Regions from separate parts of the Homo sapiens genome. Here region 1 is linked to region 2. The links are contacts of gene promoters, found by promoter capture Hi-C in blood cells and fetal thymus (Javierre and others, 2016). All regions are on one chromosome and are shown on one strand. Each heading gives the region's core, a stretch centred on a gene start or on the middle of the fragment in contact. The rest is flanking DNA. Distances are from core to core; before and after follow the strand shown.

Region 1 (5,262 bases), core at 2,423-4,922, 580 kb before region 2:
GGCACGGTGGCTCATGCCTGTAATCCCAGCACTTTGGGAGGCCAAGGCGGGCGGATCACCTGAGTCCGGAGTTCGAGACCAGCCTGGCCAACATGGTGAAACCCCATCTCTACTAAAACTACAAAAATTAGCCGGGCCTGGTCACAGGCACCTGTAATCCTAGCTACTGGGGAGGCTGAGGCAGGAGAATCGCTTGAACCTGGGAGGAGGAGGTTGCAGTGAGCCGAGATCATGCCATTGCACTCCAGCCTAGGGGACAAGAGCAAGATTTTGTCTCAAAAAATAAATAAATAAATAAAATGGAATTTCTGAGATTTTCAGGGTTTATGGTACAGATTATTTGAAATTAGGATTGTGTTAGAAGATCTAAGAAATGTATATACATATATAATAATTATTTATACATAATTATAAATTATTATTTCTAATTGGGTCATGATAAACTATAAATTATCATGGATTATTAAAATACAAATATTTTACATCTATAATTTACTATTAATGTCAAGTCATACACACACAAACACGAGGGGACTTCCAAAAGTTTGTGAAAAATAAAATTAAAAAACAAAATAAAAAATGTACACTTTATTTCTCAACATAAGCACCATCAAGTTCAAGATATTTTGTAGGTGATGATATGAATCATTTAGTCCATCACTAAAGAACTGAGTGTCCTGGGACCCTAACCATATCAATGCAGTTTTACTTTACTATAGAAAAACAGATGCTCTTTAAAAAATTTTTTAAGATTAGGAAACAAAAAGAAGTCAGAGGAGCCAAATCAGGACTGTACAGCAGATTAAAAGATTTTCCATCAAATTGCTCACAAAAGTGCGTTTGTTTGATGAGAGGAATGAGCATGAACATTGCCATGGTGGAGAACGACTCTGGTGAAGCTTTCCCAGGTATTTTATCCTAAAGCTGTTGCTAATTTTTGCAAAATACTCTCATATTAGGCAGATGTTATTGTTCTCTGGCCCTCCAGAAAGTCAGTAAGTAAAATGCCTTGAGCATCTCCAAAAAATTGTTGCCATGGTCTCTGCTTTTGACCAGTGCACTTTTGCTTTGACTGGACCACTTCTACCTCTTGATAGCCATTGCTTTGGTTGTTCCTTGTCATCAGGATTATACTGGTAATGTTTCATCTCCTGTTACAATTCTTCAAAGAAATGTTTCATGATCCTGATCCCACCCATTTAAAATCTCTATTGAAAGGCCTGCTCTTGTCTGTGGCCAACCTGGGTGCAATGGTTTTGGCACCTATCAAGGAATGGAAAGTTTAATTTCTTTGTCAGAATTGTGTAAGCTGAACCAGTTGACATATCTATGGTGTAGGCTATTGTTTTGACTGCTAATCCTTGATCCTCTTCAGTAAGGGCATTGTCTTACCCTTCTTAGTGTCTCAAACTAGATCCTGTTCAGACATGTTATAACAAGTTAGTATGAGTTTATTTGGGTGCAAAAAAACAATTTGAACTACCAGCCTAGTTTTTTCATAATATGCATTTTCCATAAAATTTTAAAGACCCCTCTCATTTGTGTGTATATGTGTGTATGTGTGTGTGTGTATTCACTTCCTCTTGCAAATGAATCAGACTACATACAAACCTTCTCACATGTCATAAGATATTTTTATTCTGCTGTAATACTCTGTTGTGTTTAACATGGAAGATACAAGAAGACCAGATACAAAACTAGGCTGGACATAGGCAGGTAGGCGTCAGTTTCCTTCTGCCTTCCATTCGCCTTTCAAACAGCTCATCTAACATTTGCTGGTAGCCTGCTTATCTAGTTTAGATTTTTTTCACCTTGGAATTTCTGGCTTAGCTGGTCAGGTGCTATATTTTCGCTGGTACTTCCAATATCCCCTTGAATCATTACTCTTCACTTTTTGATTCATACTTACCAAGACTATAAGAAAGTTTCCTGAGTTTTGATACTTTCCATTTTTATGACTAGAAATAAAAGTAGCCCAATAAATTTTTAAATTACTTTTTCTTCAGTTTGCCTTCTGTTTCTTTTCCAGAAAATTCTACCCCCATTTTCTCCCTTCCCTTCTTTCACACTGAGACACTTCTACATTGCCTGTTATTGTGCCACCTCTGTGTTGTATAGGACATGCTATGGAACAGGCATTTTCTTTTGAGACAGCCCAACTAAATTTTGAATACTGGTTTCCCCTCTAACTAGCTATGTAATCTAGGGCAAATAGTTTAAATTCCTTAAGTCCTGTCATTTGTAAAATGGTAATAATAATGGCCTATGATATAATTAGTCGAGGTATCCTTGTTTTCTTTTTGTTCTTCTAATTCTGAAACTCGACATTTTAATGAGTGGTATTGTTTAGGTTGGATTAGGAACAGTCCCCAAATAAGGGAGAGGCCGACTAGGCATTTTGGAGGCCAAGCTGTGCAAGAAGACCAGAAAGAACAAAGCTCAGAGGTTCCTTGAGCCTGGTGCCTTTAGGGGCCTGAAGAAGAACAGATCTCACACTTTTTCTTTTGCTTTGTATTTAGAACTCTGTTGGGAGAAAGATAAAGGTAGAAGGATGCAAAATTCTAACAATGGGAGAAATGACAGCTGCAAGGAGAGGGAGGGGGAAGCAACTCTTCTAAAACATAAAAGGGTCATATGATATTTATGAAAAAATTGATTATTTCAAAAAGATTCACAATCCCATTCTCTAACACATAATCTATTTTTACTTTCCCGCATCCTATAACTTGGATCTTGATAAGACTCGATTCGTTGTTTTATGTGGTTTGCAATCTCAACAAAACAAAATTTGTGTTCTTTGACAAGGATAATGCATAATCCTGACTTCAGTCTTCCCTTTTAGTCAGAACCTACCTATTTAAGGTTATTTTCCATATTAACTATTGATGATCAAAATAAGTCTAACTCGTGTTTTTCCTAGTGTTTCATAATTTTAGTTACAGAAACGATGCAGATAAAATTAATCTAACATGCGTCTTCCTGACTCTAGTACGTTGAATCTGGCCAGAAAAACCACATTTGCTCTCTACGTAGGTAATATAAATCCATCATTAGCGAAATTGCTGCATCCCTTTGGACTGGGTCTCATTAGCAGAGGTTGGAGTGGCCACTGGCCGGCACACGACACTTTAGGCCAGCAGGGGGCGGGTAAGCTCCAGGGCACTCGCCCGAGCAGCAGGGGGCGTGTCTTCTGCTTCCTTGACGGACAGCTAAGGATGCGGGAGAGGATGAGGTAATAGGAGCCGGGGCAAGGAAGGAGTTGGGGTGCGCGCGCGTGTGTGTGCGACTGTGAGTGTGCCAGTGCGTGCGCAAGCCCCGAGACAATGCGTGTCTCCAGTTCGCGCTGCGGACACTGATCATGCTGCATTAAGGAAAAAAAAAGAGAGAGAGAGAGAAAATTACATTTGGGGGAAGGAGGCTGCAAAGTTGCGGCTGGGCGACAGTGGTGGTCCCGGGGCCGTGTCATGGCGGGTCGCTTCTCTGCATCAAGGAACCAGGGAAACACACGCGGGCGCGGGTTTGCCTTAGCGCCCTGCTTGGGAGGGGTGGTTCATTCTGGAAGGAACTGAGCAGAGCCACAGGCAGGGGGAGCTCTCCCAGCGGCGGGGACTGCAATTCGTGCGGCGAAGGGGTGGGGAGGGAGGGAGAGAGGGGAGGGGACCAGAGCGTGCCATTCCGAGCGCGGCCGTGCGGCGAGATCCCACCCCGGCGTCTGCAGAGGCCGAGGCGCAACTGGTGCGAGGGCTGGGTCCTTGCCTCGCCGTCAGCCCCAGCTCGCGGCCGCCGGGGCTCGGGCCGCGCGCCCGCCGAGTGGCTTTTGCAAGGCGGGGGCCTGTTTGCAGAGAGCCGGGCATTTGCATGAAGCGACTCGACCCCACAGAGCAGCGGCAGCAGCAGCGGACCCCGGCGGCGGCGGCGGCGCGCGGTCCCAGCCAGGCGGCCCCGGTGTCCCGGCCCCGGTGGATGCACGGCTGGGGAGGAGCCCATGGGCCGGAGCTGAGGCTGCCCGGGGCGGCGGGGCGCGGGGCAGGGGGCGCGGTCGAGGCCCGGAGGCGGCGGCGCAGGAGGAAGCGGAGGAGGTCGGGCGCTCGGGGCCCGGGAGGCGGGCCGCGCAGCGCCGCAGCCCCGGGCTCGCCATGCTCCTGGCCTCGGCCGTGGTGGTCTGGGAATGGCTGAACGAGCACGGCCGCTGGCGTCCCTACAGCCCAGCGGTGAGCCACCACATCGAGGCGGTGGTCCGCGCCGGCCCCCGCGCGGGGGGCAGCGTGGTGCTGGGCCAGGTGGACAGCCGTCTCGCGCCCTACATCATCGACCTGCAGTCCATGAACCAGTTCCGCCAAGACACGGGTGAGCCAGCCGCCCCTGACCCCGCCCCGCCTGCTCCCACCTTCCCAACCTGCCAAGGTACCTCCCTCCCTGTGAACCCACCTTGGCCACCTAGTCGGCACTTCTGTGCAGCAGTGTCACCAAGAGGTGGTGGTGGGAGGCGATTCACTCCGCTGAATCCTCGCAGGATCCTCCCTCCCCCTTAAACATCCATGCAAATAGTATCAGTGTTGTGGTTTTGCAAACCCAGCTTCAACCTAGTCGGTAACAATCCACTCCCCACCCCTTTCATGCCCCCGCTTTTCAGCAGTTGGTGGCCCTAAGTCTTTCTATGTAGAAATTCTAGGGCCGCCCCAGACTACAGGCAATCCCAGCCCTTCGCAAAGGCTTCCTGCCCTCATCCCGTGGCGGCCGGCACCTTGGCTGACCTGACCCTGTTTTGCTTCAGGCACGCTGGGGCTTGCCACACGTCCCCTCACCCCCGATCTCACTGCCTCTGCGTCTCCTGTGTGGGATGCCTCCCCGCAGCTGGGTCCTGGGTGTGGGAACTGGGGGAGGAAGAAGGGATTCCCCGGAGGTTCTCGCTACAGTCGGGTAAGGGAAGCGCCGGGCTCCCTGGGAGGAGAGACTAGGGCTGGGGTACCCTGGACGCCGCGGCATTGGCGAATGCCTCTGCTACACACTACATGCGCGGAAGCAACAGGCCGGAGCAGATGGAGAGAGGAGGGGGAGGCTCGGGGCTTCGGAATGCATGGCAGGGAAGCCGCTCCCTTTGTCTGCGGAGGAGGAGGACGCAGATTCCTAAGGAGAAACTGTCCCCAGGCTTCCTCTTGAAACCATAGCCTGTAAGGAACCCATGGTCTCCTGGAGCGCCAAACTCCTATCTTTTCATGAGAATCAAGTTGTCACTGTAGCCAGCACAAACCCGCTTCCCAG
Region 2 (4,864 bases), core at 222-2,721:
TGGGAGGCTGAGATGGGAGGATGGGTTGGGCCCAGGGGATCGAGGCTGCAGAGAGCGGTGATCGCGCCACTGCACTCAACTTGCGCAACAGAATGAGACTCTGTCTAAAAAACAAACAAACAAACAAACAAACAAACAAACAACCCCCAAACTCCCCAAAAATGTGTTAGGGGAAGGAGGTGGGACAGTGTGTATTTCTGATCTACTCGCCTTTCCTAGTATGACCACCAGGGGGCGCGGAAGCCCTCCTGGTACTAAGGCGGGGACAACCTGCCCAGCGAGCACAGCGGGCAGAAGGAAGTGTGCCGGACGCGAGAGAGAACTACGGCCGAGACCCGCGGGGCCGGCTCAAAGCCCGACCTCTGCCATACGCACCGTATCTTTATGGGAGCCGATGAGGTCAGCAGGGAGCACGCGTTCAGATGGCAGAAGAGGGCAAAGTACTGCTAGAATTACAAAGATATTTACAGCTTTTTAACCTGAAAGCACAGAGCAGATCCTATTCTTCAGAATTAAATCTTCGGCTCGCCAGTCCCGTTTATGGATCTCCACTCTGATGAATGTGCCATTTGTTCCCAAGAAGACAAATAGGGTAGGGAGAAGAGGGAGAGGCGGGGAGAAGACTCGAGATAAAGGGACGATCTGCTTTTCGGAAGCAGAAGCCGCCTGGGAACCACCTGCACACCAAGCAGGCTGCGAGGACGGGGAGCGCTCCAGTGCAAAGTTCTGTATTTTAAAGCCCCTCCTCGCTCACAGGCTTCACAGCGAACTACGAAGTGGGTACCATCTCTGATTTACAGACACGGGAACGGGGTCCTCTTGAGAAACGATGCTTTCCCAAACGTCTGCAAATTGTGAGTGCCAAGTGTCTCCACTGGCACTAACAACATCGAGCTGCTTACGTTTCTCGGAGCGGTCCCGATTTCCAACAAGCAAAAGATCCAAATTCTCTGACCACCCTGACCGTCCTGTATCTCCAGATCTCCAGGTCTTTCCTCTGGACACCTCCTCCATCCCCCCACTTTCACTGCCAGCAGCCCTGAGGCTGCGCGGGATCCCGCTACTCGGAATGCCTTCCTCCTGGCGGGATATTTTTAGAACACTCGACTGCCACCCAATGTAGCCCACATCACATTGTCTTATTTGTTTTCGGGAGCTTGTCCCCGCCTAGCAAGGAGTCGGCTAAGAACTGGATCCTAGCGAGGAGCCCGGCACAGACAGCGAATGACCGCAGCCAGACAGTCGCTCTTGCTCTTCCTCGGCCCTGCGGCAGGATCCGCCGGTGCAGGGGCCTCTCCCCGGACTCCACGCGTGTCTGGAGGGCTCTCGGGTTAGGGAAGGGGGCTTTGGAGACGCCCCGGGCGGCCGGGCGGTGGCGGGACGCGGGCCCTTTAAGAAGGAGCGAGGGGCGCGGCCAGGTAGGGGCGGGTCCAGGGCGGATCAGCGCTGCGCCGGCGCCGGCCCGGGAGCCGGATTTGGAGCGCGAGGCGCCGGTGGGGGCGGAGGGGGCTGCGCGGCGGAGGCTCCCGTGGCCTCGGACGCTCCTCCTAGCTAGCGGCCGCCGCCCGCCGCCGCCTGCGCCTCCAGCTCCTTCGCCCCGGCGGGCCCGGCCGCCGCTTCCGGCAGCTCACCTGGGAAGCGCTCACCTGGGACGCGCTCACCTGGGACGCGCTACCTGCCTCCGGGCGCCTGGGCTTCAGGATGAAGGACCGTCTGGAGCAGCTGAAGGCCGTGAGTTTCGCCGCAGGCGGGGTGCTGCCAGGAGGGGTGCTGCATGGGAGAGGGGCTTCCCTTTGCTCCCCAAGTCGAGGCTGGAGGGGGGCCCGAGCCGGAGGCTTGCCCTCCCCAAGCCCCCACCGCTTCCCGCGCCGGTTCCGCACCCTCCCCTCCCCTCCCCTGCGGGGTCATGTGCCCGGTGATTCATCGCTAGGCAATGATTTTCCTGAACGCCTCTAACTCTCCCACCCCGCAAGCTGGACAGTGTCTGTCCAGAGCTGGTTCCCGAAGCGGGTGCTTGGGCCCGGGAGGTCAGGGGTCCCTTCACCACCTGCCCACTGCTGCCTGGCACTATGCCCAGGACCAGCCTCCTTCTCCCTTTCCTGTTTCTCTCCTGAGGTGCTACAGGCCTGGCTGCCCCTTCCCCCAGGGAGCAGCTCAGAGCTCTCTGGTGACCTCTGGAGCTGTGAGCCGGTCACATGCTGGGATGGGTCAGCTCCTCTCCAACCGGTGGTCTGTAATTGTTATCCCCGGGTGTCATTGTCCCCCCCTCCCCCGCCGTATCTTTTGGAACAGCTGTGGTTAGGTCAAAGGATCTGAAGGTAGACTACCTCCAGCCTTGGCTGCGCAAAAGCTGTAAAGCCTTAGGTTACTTACTGTGAGTCTCTGTTTCCTTATCTATCAAATGGGAATGATCATACCCTAGGAATTTGTTGGGAGGATCAGCTGATACAATGGAACTTGATACAGAAAAGGGTTAACGCATAGGGTTTTAAGCCAGATATTCATTGACTCATTCAGTACATAATTATTGAGTGTATTCTATGGGGAGGTCCAGTGCTAAGCCTTGGAGATTCAGTGGCACAGGTTCTACCTTAATAGAATTAAAATCTAGCCCTTGACACTCAAGAGTTTAGTCCATCTACTTTGGAGCTTGTTACAAGTGTAGCAGCTTAGGCCTGAGTCTAGCCCCGCAGAATCAGAATCTAATTATTCATCCATTTCCCCAGGTGATTCATGGGCACATTACAGTTTGGGAAGCACTGGACTGGATTAGAACTGGGGTTGTCTCCTGGCTCCACTGCTTACTGGTGATCCCTTAAAATCCCAGCCTAAGTTTTGTCATTTGTAAAATGGGTAGTTGTAAGGTCGAAATGCAACAGAAGATGCTTAAGAACACTTTTAGGGTGCATGGCACGGGGGACTTAATAAATGGTGAAATATGCTAATAACTGTGAGTGCTCTTGGGAAAATGCAGATGTCAGGGACTGCTGGGATGATGTTACAAGAGTTTATCCTTTTTCTCCCTTGCTTGGATGAGACCTTCATTCCTGTTTCACCTGTTCTGTGTAGCAGGGCTGCGGAGGAGGCAGGTAGCTGGGGAAGTGAGAGAAGCAAAGGGACAGTTGCCTATTGTGGGAGTGGCCTCTCTGCCTCAGGCTTGTGCTTAGTCATCTCAGCCTCACAGCGTCCAGGTTACTGATGGGGCAGAATTTATTGCCCCTGTTTTTATAGATGGGGAAACTGCTGCTCACGGGGTAGGAGGGATGCTCCAGGACACAGAGCCGGCCAGGGCACCACCAGGAGAGGAACCCAGGCTCTTGACACTCTCCACAGTGCTCCTTCCCTTGAAGCACGCTGGTTGGGGAGGCAGAAGGAAAAGAAGAGCACGATTTTGAAGATCTCTCTGTGTCGGCACACCCAGCAACCATAAAAAAGTACAAAACTGAACAGCAGGCTCTTCCATTTATTAGGAAATCCACTTCCAGAGGAAGATACTCCATGGCCCCTTTCAGTAGCTCATTGTCAACAATGAGCAAAGAGTCTTAACTGAGCTTTGAGTTCCAAGAATAAATTTAATTTGCCTGGGGACGCTGAGCAAGTCTCTTTGCCTCTCCTCGGTGCCTCATGGTTACCCTCTGTACAATGGAATTAATGATAGGTTTCCTCCCCTTCCCTCTTGGGGATGTGGTGAAAGTGAGACTGGAGATGGTGGTGGTATTATGGGAGGATTGTTCTGAAATCACAGGGTGGCTTCTGTAGCGTCTTGGAGCAGATGCATGGCAGCGTGGGACAAAGGGACACAGGTGGCAGGTTCCAAGACTGATCACTGTGCTTCTTTGCGTCACTTCTCTGCTTCTCAATTCCTCCTTTATACAACAAAGAATTGAGTTGATCTCAGAAGCCCCCTCTGGCGTTATTATAGGTTTTTCTTTGAAGACTGTTAAGGTTTATGTGGATTTTGGTGTCAGTTCACCTCCTCTTATCCCCTCTCCCCAGCCAGACTCCCAGGGATCACCCTCACTGAAACAAGATATGCGTCTTCTCCCTCTGATTTCCGTTATCAATTAGAAGCGTTTGTTAACCTGCATGAAACAAATTGCACATTGAGCAGCCTATGCAATCTCTTTCTGTGGTGTTCTTTCTAAATCCTGGGGAGGGGAGGTGGTAACTGCCTCCCGATAACTGGAGGGCTTTCCGTGCCTGTGATTGACTTTGTTCTGGGTAGATACAAAGAGAACATGTGGGGTTGATGGGTAGAAATGAGGAATCTGTAAGAAAGCGTTTTTAGTAGACAGAGCTGCCCAAGGATGGAGTAGATGGTGCACCCTCCAGCATGGGAAGGAAGCAAGAAGCTTGTTGGGATTTTGAATGTTGTAGGAATTTGAGCATCTCTTGGAGGGGAGGTGAACTAGGAGATATAAGGCCTTCACCAACCTTAAGAATGTGTGGTTTTATAAAATGCTTAATTGTGAGCCTGTCCTGAGGCTTTGAAGTCTACAGGGACTGAGGCCTCAAGAGTTGCCCCTGTAAAGTGGCTCATCACCCTTTTCCCATAGGATCATTGTGAGGATAAAATGAGATAATCCGTGACAATCACCCACCACTGTTATTGTTAGTTCCTCTGTCTTGGCCTGCTGGCAACAGCGTCCACACAGAAGGGCATCCCTTCCTGAGGCCATGGTCACAAGATCTGACTCACCTGGTCTCATCTCATCTCTTCTCTTGCACTGCTCTTCCTGGTGGGCTCCCTCGACAGCCTGCTTTTTCAGTGACACAGGACAGGCTTGCCAAGAATGTGCAGTGCCTCTACCCAGCCTATCCCAGGACATGGTTTTCTCTGACTTCTCAGCAGCTGAACTTTGAA

The links. The method cuts DNA at HindIII sites, captures the fragments that hold promoters and counts their contacts. A CHiCAGO score of 5 or more calls a contact.
Region 1: a contact is called between the fragment with the promoter of DTX4 here and the fragment with the promoter of STX3 in region 2, in 4 of 17 cell types (non-activated CD4 T cells, neutrophils, activated CD4 T cells and 1 more). The highest score is 6.3, in non-activated CD4 T cells.

The regions. Positions count from the first base shown.
Region 1 is chr11:59,168,460-59,173,721 of GRCh38, forward strand. DTX4 (deltex E3 ubiquitin ligase 4) reads left to right here and starts at 3,673. Exons shown (of 9, transcript NM_015177.2): 1 at 3,673-4,347. The coding sequence starts at 4,137. It overlaps LOC124902601 (basic proline-rich protein-like), which reads right to left and starts at 4,986. Exons shown (of 2, transcript XM_047427951.1): 1 at 4,806-4,986; 2 at 1,616-4,271. The coding sequence starts at 4,986. The coding sequence ends at 3,463. LOC124902675 (a long non-coding RNA gene) reads right to left here. Exons shown (of 4, transcript XR_007062682.1): 4 at 5,240-5,262. RefSeq lists enhancers at 2,810-3,350, 3,437-3,731, 4,359-5,187, 4,630-4,739 and silencers at 3,610-4,179, 4,240-4,289. The HindIII fragment of the contact is 13,201 bases long and covers 898-5,262 here.
Region 2 is chr11:59,753,905-59,758,768 of GRCh38, forward strand. It overlaps STX3 (syntaxin 3), which reads left to right and starts at 1,472. Exons shown (of 11, transcript NM_004177.5): 1 at 1,472-1,731. The coding sequence starts at 1,702. RefSeq lists enhancers at 1-402, 92-386, 152-446, 383-542 and a silencer at 1,413-1,672. The HindIII fragment of the contact is 11,536 bases long and covers 1-4,350 here.